Regions from separate parts of the Homo sapiens genome. Here region 1 is linked to region 2. Evidence: promoter capture Hi-C in 16 types of primary human blood cells and fetal thymus (Javierre and others, 2016). All regions are on one chromosome and are shown on one strand. The core of a region is centred on a gene start or on the middle of the fragment in contact, and the rest is flanking DNA. Distances in the headings are between cores, read along the strand shown. Region 1 has its middle 21 kb from the start of CCDC124. Region 2 holds the start of UNC13A (unc-13 homolog A).

Region 1 (6,274 bases), core at 3,194-5,693, 230 kb after region 2:
GCAGCTGAGCCGATTCCCATAGGAATCCTGGAACTTCTGCATAAGGTCAACTGGGTGACTTCAACCAAGCAGCTCCAGAGGCCTCCTCCCAGAATCTCCTCTTCCTCTGGGCAACCCTGCTGCCTACCCCAGCACCCCAGGCAGTGCCCTTGCCTCCTGTTCCTCCTCGTCCTCTGAGCCCTGTCTTGCAGCCCTGTTGAATGTTCTCCTAAATGGCTGGGAGGTGGGGCCCCTCCCCTTCAGGTCCACAGGCTTGTCTCTGTCTCCCCTGCTGATCTTGGTATCTGTAGCTTAAGCCAATACTGAGGCCCTGAATTCCTATTCTTTCTGGTACAGCGGGAGAGTTGTCAAGAAGCCAGGTGGAGCAGAAGACAAGACCAGGCAGGAAGCAGGTAAGTTTCCACTGGAATGACTCCACTTGCCTCCTACCGAGGCCCAGGGCTGTGTCAGCTTCAGGTGCAGCTGGCTCCAGGCCCACCTGGGGCACAGCACGGCAAGGATGGAAGGTCTCCCCTACATCCTATTCTCCCCAGAGCCAGGTCTGAGACGGGCTGGGATTGAGGATCATCCCAAAACTGGTGGCTCTCAGGAGGTAGCTCACCTCATGCCACCTACCCCACCAAGATGGAATCTTTTTTTTTTTTTTTTTTTGAGACAGACTCTTGCTCTGTCACCCAGGCTGGAGTGCAGTAGCATATTCTTGGCTCACTGCAACCTCCGTCTCCCGGGTTCAAGCGATTCTCCTGCCTCAGCCTCCCGAGTAGCTGGGATTACAGGCACCCGCCACCACACCCAGCTAATTTTCATATTTTTAGTAGAGACAAGGTTTCGCCATGTTGGCCAGTCTGGTCTTGAACTCCTGACCTCAAGTGATCTGCCCACCTAGGCCTTCCAAAATGCTGGGATTATAGGCGTGAGCCACCACTCCTGGCCTAAGGATGGAATCTTGATGAAATTGCTGTGTGGCCTGCAGCCAGTCGCTGCCCCTCTCTGGGTCATCCACGTTGCTTTCTCCAAGTCCTGACCTGGCAATGGATTGTTCAAGGAGCTGGTCAAATCCACAGTTGCCCCAGCAATGCAGAGCCCTCAAACATGAAAAAAAAAAATCTAGACAGAAAGATTTTTTTTTTTCTTAGAAAAATGAGCCAGGTGCAGTGCCTCACGCCTGTAATCCCACCACTTTGGGAGGTGGGGCGATCATCTGAGCCCAGGAGTTTGAGACCAGCCTGGGCAACATGGTGAAACTGCATCTCTACAAAAAATACAAATATTAGCCTGGTATGGTGATGCATGCCTGTGGTCCCAGCTACACAGGAGGCTGAGGTGGGAGGATCGCCCGAGCCTGGGAAGTTGAGGCTGCAGTGAGTTGTGATCATGCTACTGCACTTCAGCCTGGGTGATGGGAGTGAGACCCTGCCTCAAAAATCTAAAAAAAGAAAAAAAAAGAATATTAGATTACAAAATTCACATTACTGTGGAAATTGCTTTTGCCCTTCCAAAACAAATCATAAAACATGTTTCCTGGTGAATACATACAAATCTTACTAAATCTTCTTTTGAATACATATAAATCTTATTAAATCTTCTTTTAATTTATTTTTTTAAATTTGGCTTTTCTTTTTTCTTTTTAATCACAAAATAATTTCAAGAGCCAATTTGTCCTGGAGGCCTTGTTATGAAAATCTGCAGACCCCTGCGGCTCTCATGTTTGACGAAATCAAGAAAAACATTAACACAATCGTTGCAGAAGGGTGACCAATGCGGTTGCTTTGCGGCTGAGTATTGGTTTTATTTCAAAACACAATGTAAGAGGAACAAACAAAACACACATCCCACTCAACACCACACTTCTGACACCAGATGTGTGGGTTGTCTTTATTTTTTCCACATAGTAAGCAATTCTCCAGTGGACACCAGCTGGGATTCCTCTGATGCAATTTGGTTCCGATGCTATCTACTCGGACACAGCATCAGATCCCGCAGGTTAAGGGCTCAATCCCACAAAACAGCCCGCCTTGAGACACAATGGTCTCTATAGAGTGGGATACCCCACCCTTGCAACCTGCAGATGTGTTCATCAACTCGGAAGCTCTTCAAACCCCATCTTTTGGGGATTTTTATGGGGGCTTCATTATGAAGGCATGATTGATTATTAACTCAGTCCCTAGCCCCTCTCCGGTCTCCAGAGAAAGAGGGTGGGGCTGAAAGCTCCAAGCTTCTAATGATGGCTTGGTCTTGTTGGTCCCCACCCAGGAACCCACCAAGAGTCATCTTTTTAGAACCAAAGACGCTCCTATCACCCAGGAAACTCTAGGGGATTTAGGAGCTCTATGTCAGACACTCCCATCACTCTGTCAGGAACTGGGGTCAAAAGACCAAATATTTATTTATTTATTTATTTATTATTATTTTGAGACGGAGTCTCGTTCTGTTGTCAGGCTGGAGCGCAGTGGTGCGATCTCAGCTCACTGCAGCCTCCGCCTCCTGGGTTCAAGCGATTCTCCTGCCTCAGCCTACCGAGTAGCTGGGACTACAGGTGTGCGCCACAGGCCTGGCTAATGTTTGTATTTTTAGTAGAGATGAGGTTTTGTTATGTTGGCCACCCTGGTCTCAAACTCCTGGCCTCAAGTGATCTGCCCACTTCCACCTCCCAAAGTGCTGGGATTACAGGCATGAGCCACCCTGCCCAGACTATTTATTTTTATTTTTAAACTTTTCTTTAGAAAAAGAATCTTGCTGTGTTGCCCAGGGTGGAGTGCAGTGGGGAGATGTTGATTCACTGCAGCCTCAAACTCTCAGGCTCAATCAATCCTCCCACCTCAGCCTCCCGAGTAGCTGGGACTATAGGCACACACCACCATGCCCAGCTAATTTTTTATCTTTTGTAGAGACAGCAACTCACTAAGTTGCCCAGGCTGGTCTTGAACTCCTGGGCTGAAGCAATCCTCCTGCTTCAGCCTCCCAAAGTGCTGGGATTATAGGCATGAGCCACCACACCCAGCCCCATGCCCTGTTTTTCACTGGTGCATATTTTCTACCAGAAATGAGAGTTTTAGGTATGAATGAAGACTAGTCTGTGTGAAAACCTGTAATTGTGCTTTTGAAAAAAGATCTCCAGGTCTTCACAAAACTTTTTATTCCCTGAGGATGCCCCACTGCAAACGCCTGTGAAGCTGGAGTGCCAGACACTGAGGCCTGAGGCTGGGGGACACAGAGGCTACCAGCTTGCTTGGACCTCCTCAATCTGTCAAAGAAACTGGCTTGGGGACCACTGGAGGACCCAAATCTCCCTCTTCTCTGGGCAGTGGGTCTTGTGCATGCTGGCCTTGGACCTACTGAAGGCCCTTCCAGCCCCAGTGCTATTCTCTGAATTCATGGGGAGCAGAGGTGTTGGGACTGAGTCCTGTTGGAGACTCCAGAAACACTGACGTTTCTTGTTTGGTCCTGGGGTTAGGTAACGACGGCTGTTTCTTTTTTTCTTTCTTTCTTTCTTTTTTTTTTTTTTTTTTTTGAGGTGGAGTCTTGCTCTGTCACACGGGCTAGAATACAGTGGTGTGATCTTGGCTCACTGCAACCTCCACCCCCTGGGTTCAAGCGATTCTCCTGCCTCAGCCTCTCGAGTAACTGGGATTACAGGCATGCACCACTACCCCCAGCTAATTTTGTATTTTTAGTAGAGATGGGATTTCTCCATGTTGGTCAGGTTAATCTCAAACTCCTGAGCTCAGGTGATCCACCCACCTCGGCCTCCCAAAGTGCTGGGATTACAGGTGTGAGCCACCACACCTGGCCAGCAATTTATTTTTAGTCAGTTGTGGACTATCCTGGGTGGCTCCTGCCTAGATTATTCTAAGAATTTCTTTTTTCTTTTTTTTTTATTTTAAGACAAGGTCTTACTCTGTCGCCCAGGCTGGAGTGCAGTGATGTGATCTTGGCTCATTGCAACCTCCACCTCCCCAGTTCAAGCAATTCTCCTGCCTCAGCCTCCCAAGTAGCTGGGATTACAGGCACCTGCCACCGTACCCAGCTAAGTTTTGTATTTTTAGTAGGGACGGCATTTCACCATGGTGGCCAGGCTGGTCTTGAACTGCTCATCTCAGGTGATCCACCCACCTCGGCCTCCCAAAGTGCTGGGATTACATGCTTGAACCACCGGCGCCTGGCCTATTCTAAGAATTTCACCATTTGGACAGCTATTAGCCAGCTTTGGTTGGTCATGTGGGTCCCCACTGCATTCAACTCAGTCCTAGCCTGATCTTCAGTTTCCAACAATATCATAATATCATTGAGATAGTGTATTATTACACTTAAGATCTGCACCAAGTCCAAATCCCACTTCTGACACCAAAAGTAAAAAGAAAACATAAATTAATTTTTTTTTCTGCTCACACATCACTCAACACAACATTCCTTTCTTTTCTTTTTTCTTTTTTGAGACGGAGTCTCATTCTGTCACCCAGGCTGTAGTGCAATGGCGTGATCTCTGCTCACTGCAACCTTCTGCCTCCCGGGTTCAAACGATTCGCCTACCTCGGCCTCCCGTGTAGCTGGGACTACAGGTATGCACCACCATGCCCAGCTAACTTTTGTATTTTTAGTAGAGATGGAGTTTCACCATGTTGCCCAGGCTGGTCTCGAACTCCTGACCTCAGGTGATCTGCCAGCCTCAGACTCCCAAAGTGCTGGGATTACAGGCATGAGCCACTGTGCCCAGCCTTAACACAACATTTCTGACACCAGATGTATGGGAACTTTTCCAAACGTCAAGTAATTCTCCAGCAGACACCAGCTGGGTGGGGTTTTTTGTTTGATTTTTTTGTCTTTTTATTTTTTTAGGTGGGTGTTTTTAAATTCAATTCAGTTCAGAAGCTATCTACCTGAAGATAGTATCAGATCCCATAGGTTAAGGGCTCAGTCCCACAAGATGGTCCCTACTGCAGATGCCATCTGCAAACAGTAGGTTTTCACCTGTACTTCTAATGCACTGGCTGTAAATCAAGACTCCCTTAGGCTGGGCACAGAGTCCCCTCCTGTAATCCCAGCACTTTGGGAGGCCAAGGTGGGAAGATCACTTGAGCTCAGGAGTTTGAGACCAGCCTGGGCAACATGGTGAAACCCCATCTTTACAAAAAATACAAAAAATTAGCTGGGCATAGTGGTGTGCACCTGTGGTCCCAGTTACTTAGGAGGCTGAAATGGGAGAATCGCTTGAGCCCAGGAGGTGGAGGTTGCCGTGAGCCAAGATCGCATCATTGCACTCCAGGCTGGGCAACAGAGCAAGACCCCATCTTAAAAAAAAATGGTGGCTGGCCGCAGTGGCTCATGGTTGTAATCCCAGCACTTTGGGAGGCCAAGGTGGGCAGATCACCTGAGGTCAGGAGTTCAAGACCCGTCTCTACTAAAAATACAAAAATTAGCTGGGTGTGGTGGCATGTGCCTGTAATCCCAGCTACTCAGGAGGCTGAGACAGAAGAATCACTTGAACCCAGGAGGCGGAGGTTGCAGTGAGCCGAGATTGCACCATTGCACTCCAGCCTGGGCAACAAGAGTGAAAATGTCATCTCAAAAACATTTTTTTAAGTACTATTTTTTTAAAGAAGTGGGGGTGGCCAGGTGCAGTGGTTCACACCTGTAATCCCAGCACTTTGGGAGGCCAAGGTGGGAGAATCAGTCAAGCTCAGGAATTCAAGACCAGATAGCACAACATGGTGAAACCCTATCTCTACAAAAAAATACAAAAAAATAGCCAGCTGTTGGAGGCACACACCTGAGGTCCCTGCTACATAGGAGGCTGAGGTGGGAGGATTGCTTGAGCCTGGGAGATGGACACTGCAGTGAGCCAAGATCACCCCAGCACTCCAGCCTCGGTGATAGAACAAGACCCTGCTAAAAAAAAAAAAAAAAAAAAAAAAAGGTGGCTAGGCACAGTGGCTCATGCCTGTAATCTCAGCACTTTGGGAGGCTGAGGCAGGTGATCACCTGAGGTCAGGAGTTTGAGACCAGCCTGGCCAACATAGTGAAACCCCGTCTCTACTAAAAAAAAACTTAGCCGGGCATGGTGGCACACATCTGTAATCCCAGCTACCTGGGAGGCTGAGGCAGGAGAATTGCTTGAACCCAAGAGGTGGAGGTTGCAGTGAGCCAAGATTGCGCCATTGCACTCCGCCCTGGGCAAAAAGAGTGAAACTCCATCTCAAAAAAAGAAAAAGAAAACAATAATACTCACACCTGTAATCCCAGCACTTTGGGAGCCTGAAGCGGGCGGATCACCTGA
Region 2 (5,590 bases), core at 3,005-5,504:
TCAAAACAAAACAAAACATCAAGTGGCCTGTGCAAAATGCTGTGAGGCACATAGGAAGATCTGGAAGTAACCCTTCACACCACCATGCTTTTGCTCATGCTGTTCCCTCCACCCAGAGCACCATCTCCCTCCTGCTCATCTCCCCCTCATCACATCTTCTGAGACTCAAGTAAATGGTGGTGGTGGAATCAGGGTAGGCTTCCCAGAGGAAGAGAGCCCTGGATACCCCACTCCTCAGCTCCCTTAGCCCTCCCTCATCTCTTTCATTCTAACCCCATGGGACGTGCAGGAGTGATGGCTAGGAATAGGGCTGGGTCCCAGAGCCAGGAACAGTGCCTGGTATACAGTAGGTGCTCAATTAATGCTTGTTGCATAAATAAAATAAGTGACTTCATGAAGGAACCAGGTGGCATTTACCATTCACAGCCTCAGGATCCTGCCAAGACCTAGTCAGTGGATTACGATGTTGGGAAGCAGCGGGGCACCACATGAATAAATAAATGAAGCGGGCAGAGATAAGGCCCATACACCATACAGGGTGGTCTGCTATGTGTTGGTGCTGGGTGTATACACAAGAGCTTGCATTTGCCTGTACTTGCTTGGGTATTTGCAGCAGTAGTTGGCTCATCTTACCAGGGCAGGCAGGTGCCTGCCTCTACATGGATATGAGTGTGCATGTGTGCAGAGTATGTGCACCATTTAAGTGCAGGTGGGAGTCTGCACATGTGTGTCTAGGAGTGGGGTGTCACTACATCAGAGACACACTGGTGTGTGTGAGCTTGTGGGTGATATGTTAGGTGGAAAACACACATATTGATGTTTGCATGTGTACATGGATGCAGTTCTGTGGCAGCTGTATTTGTTTATCTGCATACATGTATGCACTTGTGTGCAATGAAATACTCAAATGTGTATTTACTTGTATGCATCATCATCCACTTGTTGAAAGGGGCTGCTTTGAATGTCCAGGCAAGTGTTGTCATGTGCATACACACATGGCTTTGACATGTGCTTATATGAATATATATGTGCTTCATGGGGTTGGGGACCTTAACAGATATGTATGGGTACATGTCTGAGTGTTAGGACATGAGTGAATCTTTTTTTTTGAGACAGAGTCTCACTGTGTTGCCCAGGCTGGAGTACAGTGGCAGGATCTCAGCTCACTGCAACCTCCACCTCCCCTATTCAAGTGATTCTCCTTCCTCAGCCTCCCGAGTAGCTGAGACTACAGGTGCGCGCCACCACACCTGGCTAATTTTTTTTATTTTTTAGCAGTGACAAAGTTTCACCATGTTGGCCAGGCTGGTCTTGAACTCCTGACCTCAAGTGATCTGCCCACCTTGGCCTCCCAAAGTCAAAGTGATGAGATTACAGGCCTGAGCCACCGCGCTCGGCTGGACATGGGTGGATCTTTATGTGACATGTATATTGTGAGCATTCATCAGACACGTGGATACATCTATATGCGTGCTGGCAGACACACACACTCACACGTGTGTTGCTGGGACTATATCTGTAGCGGCAGACTGTGTCCTATATACACGTGTATGCTTGTGTTCACACAGGCATTTGAGTACACACGTGTGCCTACGGAATGTGCCTTCCCAGGCACATGGTCTGCGTAGAGCCTTCATACATCCTAAGCATTTGTGTCCACACAGGAACAAGTCTGGGTATGAATGTGTGTAGGGATTGGCAAACGCCTGTGGGTCCCCGGTGGAGGGGAGGGGGGACAGGTATTTCCTCAGCTGAGCTCAGGCAACACGGCAACCCATCTCAGCCTAGCTTCACTCCTGCCAAGCCCACCCCAACATCTCTCGTGCTCAGCCATCCCAGCCCCTCCCCTCTCTGGGCACCATCCCACCTCTCCCTGGGAGACTGGCCTCACCCAGCACTTCTCCCTCTCCCCACCCCTCCCTGCCTCCTACTCCTCCTCACTCCAACCTCACACCTCCCTTTACACCTGAGGGCCTTACCTCCCACCCCTGTCAACCTCTTCCCCAGCCTTGCCCCTCCCAGCGATTCCTCTCCACTCAGCCGGGCCCCTCCCTGTAAAGTCCACAGAATCCAGCACAGTCCTCCCCCAACGTCTCTGTTTCTGGAAGCCTCATCCCTCTTGCCTCCTGCTGCCCCCCCTTAATGCCACCCCCGCAGCCGAGCCTCCTGTTTGCGTCAGAGTTAAGGGTGAGATCCCCGCCCCCCCCCCCCCCCCCCCACTCCACTAGGCAAACCTTCCAGAGAAGCCCAACTTGGAGGATGTGAGGCGGGGTGGGGCGGGATGCTGGGGGGAGAAGAGAGAGGATAGAGGAGTCAGCCAAGAACACCCACGTCGGAACCTCCTCCAGTGCCACCTTTAAGAGCCCGGCTACTTAGAGCAGGGGGAGAGGTCAGTAGGGGGTCTGGACATTCAAGTTCTCCTCCCATTCCGTCCTCAGGCCTAGGCGGTGGGGGTCGCCTAGGGGTCTCCTTCACTTCCCTACTCCCCTAACTCCATAGGCCTGGAGGCTAGGGGATGGAGGAGTTGACCTTTGACTCTAGGGACCCTTCTTCCACCACCCCCAGCCCCGTCCAGCAGAAACGAGCTTAGAGAAAGTAGGCCCCTGTCCCTTTAAGAACACCCGCGTCCACGCCGGCCCAGCCCGGCCGGATTTGCACTCGGAAGCTGCCGCGGCGGGGAGCGGGCGGGCGGGGCAGGGTTTGTGAATGAATCGGCCGAGGGGGAGGGGAGGGAGGAGGAGGGGCGGCGGGGGCGGTTCCCGGCTCCCCGGCCTGCCCACCCTGTGTCCAGGCAGCAGGAGTTCAGCACACGCACGCTTCCTGTCGCCCGAGGTCTCCCGAAGCCTGCAGTCTCAGGCTTGGCAGACACACCCCTTCCCCCACCCCAGCCTTCTTGAAATGGGTGGGAGTGACGGGGGGACCCCAGTCCTTAAGAACCAGGGGTTCAGAGCTCTGTAGGCGTGGAACGGCGGTCCACATCCACCCCTGCCGCCCAAGGTCTCCCAGAGTTTGATTTCTCAAACGGGAGTGCCCAGAACGCCTGGGTTCGGTTGGGCTGGCTTCCCCACGACCCCAGAGCCATAAAGGTGTGGGGTGGGGGGTCATGCCCCTCCCACGTCTCCCTCCCTCCTCCAACCCCAACGCAGAGCGTGGGCCTGGGCGTGGGCCTCTGTGCAGATGGCGTTCTGGCCCCAAAATAGCTCCCCCCCCACCTCACGTCTCCCTCCCTCCCTCTCTCCAGTGCAAAGTGGGTGAGGTGAGGATGGGCCAGGAGGGGGACCAGGAGACATTGCTCTTCCAAGAAGTAGGCTCCCTGCCGAGAAGGCCCTGAAACGTGTTTGGGAGAACCGGAGGGGGCAGGGAGCGGGAAGACCTTCTGGACATTCCTCCAACCCCCTCACTCGGGAGGCCAAAGAGTTAACTGGAAAAGCGCCCCCAGACCTCCAGTCACAGCCCTCTCTGGACGCTGGGAGGGGTCTCCTGTCTCCACACTCCCCCCACTCCAGTCCTCTTTACACCTAGGGCTGGGAGAGTCCTAGAACTCGTGGATGCCCTGATGGCCAAGCCCCTCTACCTATATCTTACATCCCCACGGCTTGGAGAACCCTCCCACCGCACTCTCCTTCGAATTTCCAGCCGGGTCCGCGTCCATGAGGACCCGTAACCCAGCCCACAACACCAGACCCCTTCCAAGCACCCCTGCAGGCTTCAATCAAACTACCGAGCCCAGACTCTTCCTCACTGACCCTCTAAAAACCTGGTCTACACAGACGCCCCAGTCTAGATCGTTTCCGGGTAGAACCCCGGATACCCGTCCACGTCCACACGGGCCTCCGCGTTCAGCCGCGTCCACACGACCCCTCCAGCAGCGGCCACCAGGACCCCCGAGAGCCCTGCCGCGTCTACACGGATCACCCCCTCCGGGGCCCAGCTGCGTCGACAAGGGCTACCCCTCTCAAAAGTCCAGCCACCTGGACTCGGGTCACCCCCCAGGAACCCCCTGGGAGCCGCATCCACGCGGACCCCGACCCCAGCCCGCGTCCACACGGGTCCCCCGACCCCCAGCCTCGCCTCCTACCTCCAACGCAAAGCAGAGACATGTCTCCGAGCTCGCAGGTGGGCCGGAGGCGGCCGGGCCGGCTCTGTCGGGTCGGGCTCAGCGGCCGCTGGGCTGGGGCATCTCCCGGCTGCAGCCCGCGCTTGGCTCACGCCGGGGCCCGGCCGCCACCGGCCATCTTGGTTCAGCACCGGGGGCGCGGACAGCGCCTGACGTGGCGCTGATGCGGGGCGGGCAGGCGGAGCCCAGGGACGCCTGATGGGGCGGGGGCGCTGCGGGCTGGGGGGGCGTTAAAGGGCCTGGCTCCGGGAAGGGGCGCCTCGCCCCACACCTCCTCGTTGCAGGGGGACAAGGGGCGACGGCGGCCCCCAAGCAGGTTTCCTCCTGTGCAGACCCTCACCTGCACTGAAATGGTGCACGTGCCCCCGCCACCCATGCATGGACATTCCTGCCCTGGTAACCTGGGCAAACGCCTCCCTGCAATACTCAAGCAAGTACAGGCAAATGCAAGCTCTTGTGTGTACGCCCGGCACCAGCACCGGGCAGATGGTCCTGTTCTCTGAGTATCTCTCTTCCTCTGTCTCTACGTCTCTGTCTCTCTAACTCTACTGCCTGGTCTCTTTCTCTCCCTGGGTCTCTGTTCCTCTGACTCTGTCCACTGCTCTCTCAGTCATGTGTCTCTTAGCCTCTCTCTGTAAAGTCTTTTTGCAGCTCTACTGCATCCTGTCTAGGTCTCTCTCTATGTCTCTAAGCCATCCAGCCCATGGGTCCTTGCCCACACTCTGAACTCCTTTTCATCCATCAATGTCTTGTCTGAATATCCTCTCCTCCAGGAAGGCTTCCCTGACTGCCCCAAGCTGAGCCTTTGTTTCTCCTCTCTGGACTCCCCCAGCCCCTATCCCTTCCTCTGATTGGGCCCTGACCCGAACGAAACTCTGCCACTCCTCCCCACTTTTCTTTTTTTTAGATGGAGTCTCCCTCTGCAGCCCAGGCTGGAATGCAGTGACGCAATCTTGGCTCACTGCAACCTCTGCCTCCTGGGATCAAGAGATTCTCCTGCCTCAGCCTCCCCGAGTAGCTGGGACTACAGGCGCATGCCACCATGCCCAGCTTTTTTTTTTTATTTTATTTTTTTTATTTTTAGTAGAGACGAGGTTTCACCATGTTGGCCAGCCTGGTCTTGAACACTTGACCTCAGGGGATCCGCCCATCTCGGCCTCCCAAAGTGCTGGGATTCAGACCTGAGCCACTGCGCCTGGCCCCCTCCCCACATATCAAACTGGGCAGCTCCATGTGGGCCCCTTGCCCTGCAACCTGCTCGCTGTATCACTGGCACCTAAACTAGCATGAAAGGCTGAGCCCCACAGGGTCTCCTGCCCCCAGCCCACATGAAAGAGCTTCATAAATGCAGAATGTGCATGGAGTTGAGTGAGGCCATTGTTCAAAACCAAACTCTGTCTCTCATCACAAGCATGGCCTTGGGCAGGTCTTGTGACCTCCTCGTGCCTCAGTTTCCGCACCTGTAGAATGAAT

Evidence for each region. Contacts are between HindIII fragments. The CHiCAGO score rates a contact against its expected background, and 5 or more counts as called.
Region 1: a contact is called between a fragment that was not itself captured here and the fragment with the promoter of UNC13A in region 2, in 10 of 17 cell types (naive CD8 T cells, activated CD4 T cells, M1 macrophages and 7 more). The highest score is 9.4, in naive CD8 T cells.

Annotation. Positions count from the first base shown.
Region 1 is chr19:17,909,182-17,915,455 of GRCh38, forward strand. No RefSeq gene overlaps it. Among named protein-coding and RNA genes, the nearest start is that of CCDC124, 21 kb to the right of the region's middle. The HindIII fragment of the contact is 4,460 bases long and covers 2,214-6,274 here.
Region 2 is chr19:17,684,100-17,689,689 of GRCh38, forward strand. UNC13A (unc-13 homolog A) reads right to left here and starts at 4,255. Exons shown (of 44, transcript NM_001080421.3): 1 at 4,079-4,255. The coding sequence starts at 4,100. RefSeq lists enhancers at 2,435-3,396, 3,397-4,357 and a silencer at 3,591-3,773. The HindIII fragment of the contact is 13,980 bases long and covers 1-5,590 here.